Linked DNA regions of Homo sapiens: region 1 is linked to region 2. Evidence: promoter capture Hi-C in human tissues and cell types (Jung and others, 2019). All regions are on one chromosome and are shown on one strand. Each heading gives the region's core, a stretch centred on a gene start or on the middle of the fragment in contact. The rest is flanking DNA. Distances are from core to core; before and after follow the strand shown. Region 1 has its middle 20 kb from the start of ATP2B2-IT2. Region 2 holds the start of SEC13 (SEC13 homolog, nuclear pore and COPII component).

The links. The method cuts DNA at HindIII sites, captures the fragments that hold promoters and counts their contacts. A contact is called where the count stands out against the background at its distance.
Region 1: a fragment that was not itself captured here is called in contact with the fragment with the promoter of SEC13 in region 2 in 2 of the 25 tissues and cell types used here (H1 embryonic stem cells and IMR-90 fibroblasts).

What each region holds. Positions count from the first base shown.
Region 1 is chr3:10,605,678-10,608,726 of GRCh38, forward strand. It overlaps a transcript of ATP2B2 not described here. Among named protein-coding and RNA genes, the nearest start is that of ATP2B2-IT2, 20 kb to the right of the region's middle. The HindIII fragment of the contact is 7,268 bases long and covers 1-3,049 here.
Region 2 is chr3:10,319,760-10,322,542 of GRCh38, forward strand. SEC13 (SEC13 homolog, nuclear pore and COPII component) reads right to left here and starts at 1,353. Exons shown (of 9, transcript NM_183352.3): 1 at 1,291-1,353. The coding sequence starts at 1,293. RefSeq lists enhancers at 1,019-1,318, 1,066-1,661 and a silencer at 1,509-1,588. The HindIII fragment of the contact is 24,307 bases long and covers 1-2,783 here.

The sequences.
Region 1 (3,049 bases), core at 339-2,838, 290 kb after region 2:
TCACTCTGCCACCCAGGTGGGAGTGCAGTGGTGCAATATCGGCTCACTGCAACCTCCGCCTCCCGGGTTCAAGTGATTCTCCTGCCTCAGCCTCCTGAGTAGCTGGGACTACAGGCATGCATCACCATGCCTAGCTAATTTTTGTATTTTTAGTAGAGATGAGGTTTCGCCATGTTGGCCAGGCTGGTCTTGAACTCCTGACCTCAAGTGATCTGCCTGCCTCAGCCTCCCAAAGTGCTGTGATTACAGGCGTGAGCCACCATGCCCAGCCCTCTACATTTTTTTTTAAAATCAGTTGGCTGTGGTGGTATGCACCTGTGGTCTCAGCTACTCTGGAGGCTGAGATGGGAGGTTTGCTTGAGTCCAGAAGTTCAAGGCTGCAGCGAGCTACGATTGTACCACCGCACTCCAGCCTGGGTGCAGAGCAAGACTTTAATCTCTAAAAACAAAAACAAAAACAAAAAAACAACCTAAGGACTCGGGTTGCTGTTTCCAGTGGAGGAGTTCAGTGTTCAATCTGGGCTCTGCCGCTTGTGATCTGCATGAGACCCCCGGTGAGATAACGCAGCTCTCTGAGCCTCAGTTTTCTCATCTATAAAATGAGGGTAGTACTGTACCCATATACTCCACGGCCAGAGTGTATGTGAGAGGAGGCAATGCATGTCAAGAGCCTGGCTTGTGTTTAATAGATGGTGGCAATGACTCTTAGCAGAGTCCTTGGGCAAAGCTGTAGTCCGCACCATCTAACCCCAAGATCTCAGCCCCTGACCAGGGGGGTGGAGTTAAAAGCCAGGATTAAGGTCCTTTGCTAGTCTTTGGTGAAGTAGGGAGTGCAAGACTTCCAATCCTCCTGGCTTGTATATTGGGTTGGAGGTCCAGTTCCCTTACTTAGTTAACTCTGGAAGTCAGTCTGAATCCTGTGGGTGGACGTGTGTGCAGCGGAGGTACACATGTGCATGCAGGGGAGTTTTGGAGATGTGTATCTGTGTGTCTGTGCCAGGTAAATGTGTCTACTTTTACAACGGTTTGGAGCACTAATGTGTGTGTCTGTGTGTATGTGTGTTTTACACACCTGCTTATGTATAAGACCTTTCCCCATACTCCTATCCATTCCTCCCTAAGTCTCCCTCAGTCACTGCTGTATCCCCAGGGCCTGGCACATAGTAGGTGCACAGTAAACGTAAGTGTAATGACGGAGTCTAAACACACACACACACACACACACACACACACACAGAGAGAGAGAGAGAGAGAGAGAGAGGGAGAGGGAGAGGGGGAGGGGGGGAGAGAGAGAGAGAGAGAAAGAAAGAGAGAGAGAGAGACAGAGAGAGAGAGAGAGAGACTGTTCCCATCAACCTTTGTCTTAAAAACATTTAATTTGGCAACTCAGGTATGAATCTCATACTTTTTAAAAATGTTCTATCTTTTCCAACTTCACACAGAGACAAGATGTGGCACTGGCTTGGCGGTCGGCAGGAAGCTGGTTGACCACGTACTGGCTGTGTGACACTGGCCAGTTGCTTCTCCTCTCTGATCCACTTGTGTGAGGGTTGAATAAGCCCAGGCAGTGGAAAGCCCAGAACAGAGCCTGAAACAGTGGAGGAAGCTGCAAAGGAAGTTGTTTAGTTGCAGTACTTCCAACCAGGAATCCCCCACAAAGCTGGGCACTCCCAGACCTCCAGCCCTGGACCTTAGAAACCATTGCTCCCTGACATTTCCATTTCTCCTAAGCCAAGGTCTTTTCCAAAGCCAGGCAGAGTCCCTGGACTCCCTGGAGAGGGGTCAGTGGTGAGCCAAGGCAGTGCCCCATTAGCCATCCCCCAGGTATCCCTGACCCCTGCACACCTGGCACCCTGGCCAGGACACAGAACCTTTCTAAATGATCCATTTCTAGGGTAGGCTCTGCACAACCAACCTGCTCAGTGGCATTGCCATTCAATACCTGAAAAATCTATCCACACTAGGGACATGGCATCCACTTTCCACACTTGCACTTAGATGGAAAGGGGGTGCAACCCCAAGCAGCGAGGGCCAAGCTAAGCCTGCTGTAGGTGCAGGGTGAGATCTTTCTGTTTGAGTGTGGCAGCTATCACAAGTTCAGTGACCACATGTAGATTTGGAGGGTGTGTGGATGATAAATCTGGCATTGACTCAGCATCACCAGGGTTTACCATGAAGCTTGCTAGGGCAGGGGTCTAGGGGGGTGATACTATATCGAAGTCAGGTCCCAGTGTGACCAGATTTGACCTTATGACCTCCCTCCCTCTCTCTTCCACCTGCTCCTTCTCCCCTTGTCCCCTCTCTCATCAAGAGGCAGCATCACCCACCCAGGCCTCACTGTCCACTTTGAAATCATCCCTGACACTTCCTTTTCCTTCACGATTGACCCTTGTCACTCAAACTCGGAAAAGAGCAGAGCTGTCCCCTGCTGTCTACCTCCTGACTCCACTGCCTTGGTCTAAGCACTGGCCTCTAGGATTTTTAAGTCATAGCTTTCTTCTCTGGAAGGTCCCTGTCTCCCTCCTCACTCCATCCACACTGTAGTTTTCTAAGATGCAAAGCTGACCACATCAAGCCCCCATTATAAAGTCTGCAGTGCCACTGGGCATGGTGGCTTGTGCCTGTAGTCCCAGCTACTGGGGAGGCTGAGGTGGGAGGATCACTTGAGCCCAGGAGTTTGAAGCTGCAGTGAGCAATGATTGTGCCACTGCACTCCAGCCTGGGCCACATAGTGAGACCTTACCTCTTAACAAAAAAATTAAAATCTTCAGTGTCTCTCACCTGTCTGTAAGACCAAGTCCTGACTCCCTCAACTGGCCTTGGAGGCCTTTGGTGATGAGGCCCTGTCAGTTTCCTCTGCTGGCTCTCTGCAGCCTCTGCTCAGACCTGCCGAGCCCGTCACCACATACGATCACATTTTGTATGTTCAAATCTCTTTGCAGTCACTCATAAGATTTTGGCTGCCCTTTGTTCCCTGAAGAACTCTTACTCATCTGCCAAGACCTGGTTGAAATGGCCCTTCATCTGTAAAATCTTCTCCAGCACCCTG
Region 2 (2,783 bases), core at 103-2,602:
ATGAGAGAGAGAGAGAGAGAGAGAGAGAGAGAGAGAAGGCGGGGGGGGGGGGGGGGGAGGAAAGAGGGAGGGGGAGAGAAAAGGACGGAAGGAAGGAGGAAGGGCGGGAGAGAAAGGGAGAGGGAGAGGAAGGGGGGAGGAAGAGGGAGCGGGGAGAGAGAGAGAGAAGAGAGGGAGGGGGAGAGAGAGAAAGGGAGAGGGAGAGGAAGGGGGGAGGGAGAGGGAGTGGGGAGAGAGGGAGGGTGGGGAGAGAGAGAGAGAGAGAGAGAACTTCTTAGAGTACTTCTTCCCAGGGACCTGGTATTATCTGGTCCCTGTTAACACCTGCACTCAAAATAATTCACCTCTTTGAGATCAGATAATGAGTTAAAAATTCATTTAGGATGAGCTGAATGTCAGAGCATAAAAGCCTCAACTCTAACCTGCAGTGGAAGAGCCAGAGGTGAGTGATTTACACCTAACCCTCTGCAGAACAAGAACACAGTGTTCTGATTTCTAGGTTCCTGCAGGTTCCCTCAAACCTGCTGCTGAGACACACCCATGTTTCTAAAAGAATGCATGTACTAGATATTCCAGGCTCAGCCCAGATACTTCCATTCTTTAGTTCTCCTTCAGTCATTCATTCACTCAAGGAGTAAGTGTGGAGTGAATGTACACTGCAGATGCCACAGAGACTTAAAAAACCCTGAGCCCCTGCCTTCGGAGGGTCGTTCAGGCCATCTTTACGTTTCCCGAGGTGCCCATCCTACCTGGGGGCCCTACCCCGAGCAACAGTTCAATCATCTCTGCTGGGAGCTGCAGTAGGCGGCAGAAAGGAATGGTTAGGAGGGTTCAAATCTCGGCTCTACTACCACTTAAGCAGCTGTGCAAGAGGCTCCACGTCTCCGAACCTCAAGTGTCCTCATCTGTAAAGTGTTGAGAAGAATAGCACCTTCTTCACAAGGCTGTTAGCAGGCGGAGATTACGAACAATGCTGAGGGCTCGGTATACAGTAGCTCCTCTGCTGTTCCTCGTTTTGTTTTCAATTGTTGACCGAAAAGAAGGAAGGGAGACTGGCAGGAGACGCAGGAGCGGCGCGCCCCGCAAAGTCAGGGAGGTTCCTCGGCCTCACCTCTGGACTCCCCTCGGAATGGTCCGCAAGGACGGGGCCAGAGCCCCCCAAATCTCTAAGCGGTGGAGGGGAGCTGAACGGCTCCAGCTTGGGATTTGGGACTCAGGACGGCCGAGGAACCCGTGAAGGCCGCGACCGTGGCCTTCACCCTGCTAGGCCTCCTCAGTACCAACACTCACCATGATTGCGGCGGTGGCTGCTCCAGGTCTCGGACGTGGCAGCTCCCGGCGGCGCCTCGGAACAGCTCACTTCCGGCGCCGGGCCCGACGGGCCGTGGCGTAGGAGCCTCCGGGCAGCAACGCGCTCGGCTCGCACAGCAGTTCCGCGCCTTCCAGAGGGCGCGCCCCGCCCTCCCGTGGCCCAGCCCCTATCCTCCAGTGACGTGCGAGACCAGAGGGCTGGGGCTCTGGTTGCCGCAGTTACCCTGACCCGGAGGGCTTTGGAATCTGAAGCTCTGGTGGGTCTACTCTCCCGACCAAGTCTGCCCTTTTCCTGAGATCCATAAATGAAAGAAAGGATTAATATAACTATCGGCCGGGCGCGGTGGCTCATGCCTGTAATCCCAGAACTTTGGGAGGCTGAGCTGGGGGGTGGATCACCTGAGGTCAGGAGTTCGAGACCAGCCTGGCCAACATGGTGAAACCCCGTCTCTACCAAAAATACAAAAATTAGCCGGGCATAGTGGCGCGCGCCTGTAGTCCCAGCTACAGGCTGAGGCAGGAGAATCGCTGGAACCCGGGAGGTGGAGGTTACAGTGAGCCGTGACTGCACCATTGCACTCCAGCCTGGGCAACAGAGAGACACTCTTGTAAAAAAGAAAAAAATCTATCTATCTATCTATCTATCTATCTATCTATCTATCTATCTATCTATCATCTATCTATCTGCAGCTTCACCCGCCTCACTACGGCTCTGGGTGCGACTGGTCTTATGATGAATGTTGTAGGATGAGTGACATCTTAGGAGTAAGTAGACTGTCCTAGTGCTTCCTTGTTGTAGTCTCCCTCTCAGTACCCAAGGACTGGGACCAGGGCAGAGGAGGCCAGGGAATGCCCCTCGCCAGAGGCTGGGACCTCTGGCCCTGCCATCCCTAACCCCTATATAGGACTGCCCCTTCCAAACCGATCCCCTGGGGTCCTGAGTAAGTCCCATCAAGGAGACCCCCCTAGGCAATGAAGGATCTCAGCCAGGCTCCTGCAGCTAGAGCCCCAGACCTAATCCTCAGGGTCCCCAACCCCAGGTCTCTGGCTTCACAAGGTAGGGCAGCTGAAGGCTCCCCACAAGCGCAGTGAGAATGCCACACTGGAGGACAGAGCCTGGGCTCCCCGCCTCAGCCACATATGGTCTAGCCCTGGGCCCCTTGTGACATTAAGGAGGCAGATGAGCTGGGGGAGGCCTTGGCTCCCCTTGGGCAAGTCACAGTCCTTCAGTTTCCTCTGCTGAAACTGGGAGTAAGGACCCTAGCTGGAGATGGTCACTGCTTGAAGGAAGATGTTAAGGCTCAGAGAATGTGATAGACCCAAACTGTCAAGGAGCTTTGGAGGGGAGGCCAGGGGAGTAGGGTGTTAGAATTAAGGGCCAGGCCTCTGGGCAACTCTTCTACCCCACTGCAGCTTTCAAGATTTTTTATTGCCCTCTAGTGGAGAAATTGTTGCAGGGGTGTGAGGGGGTG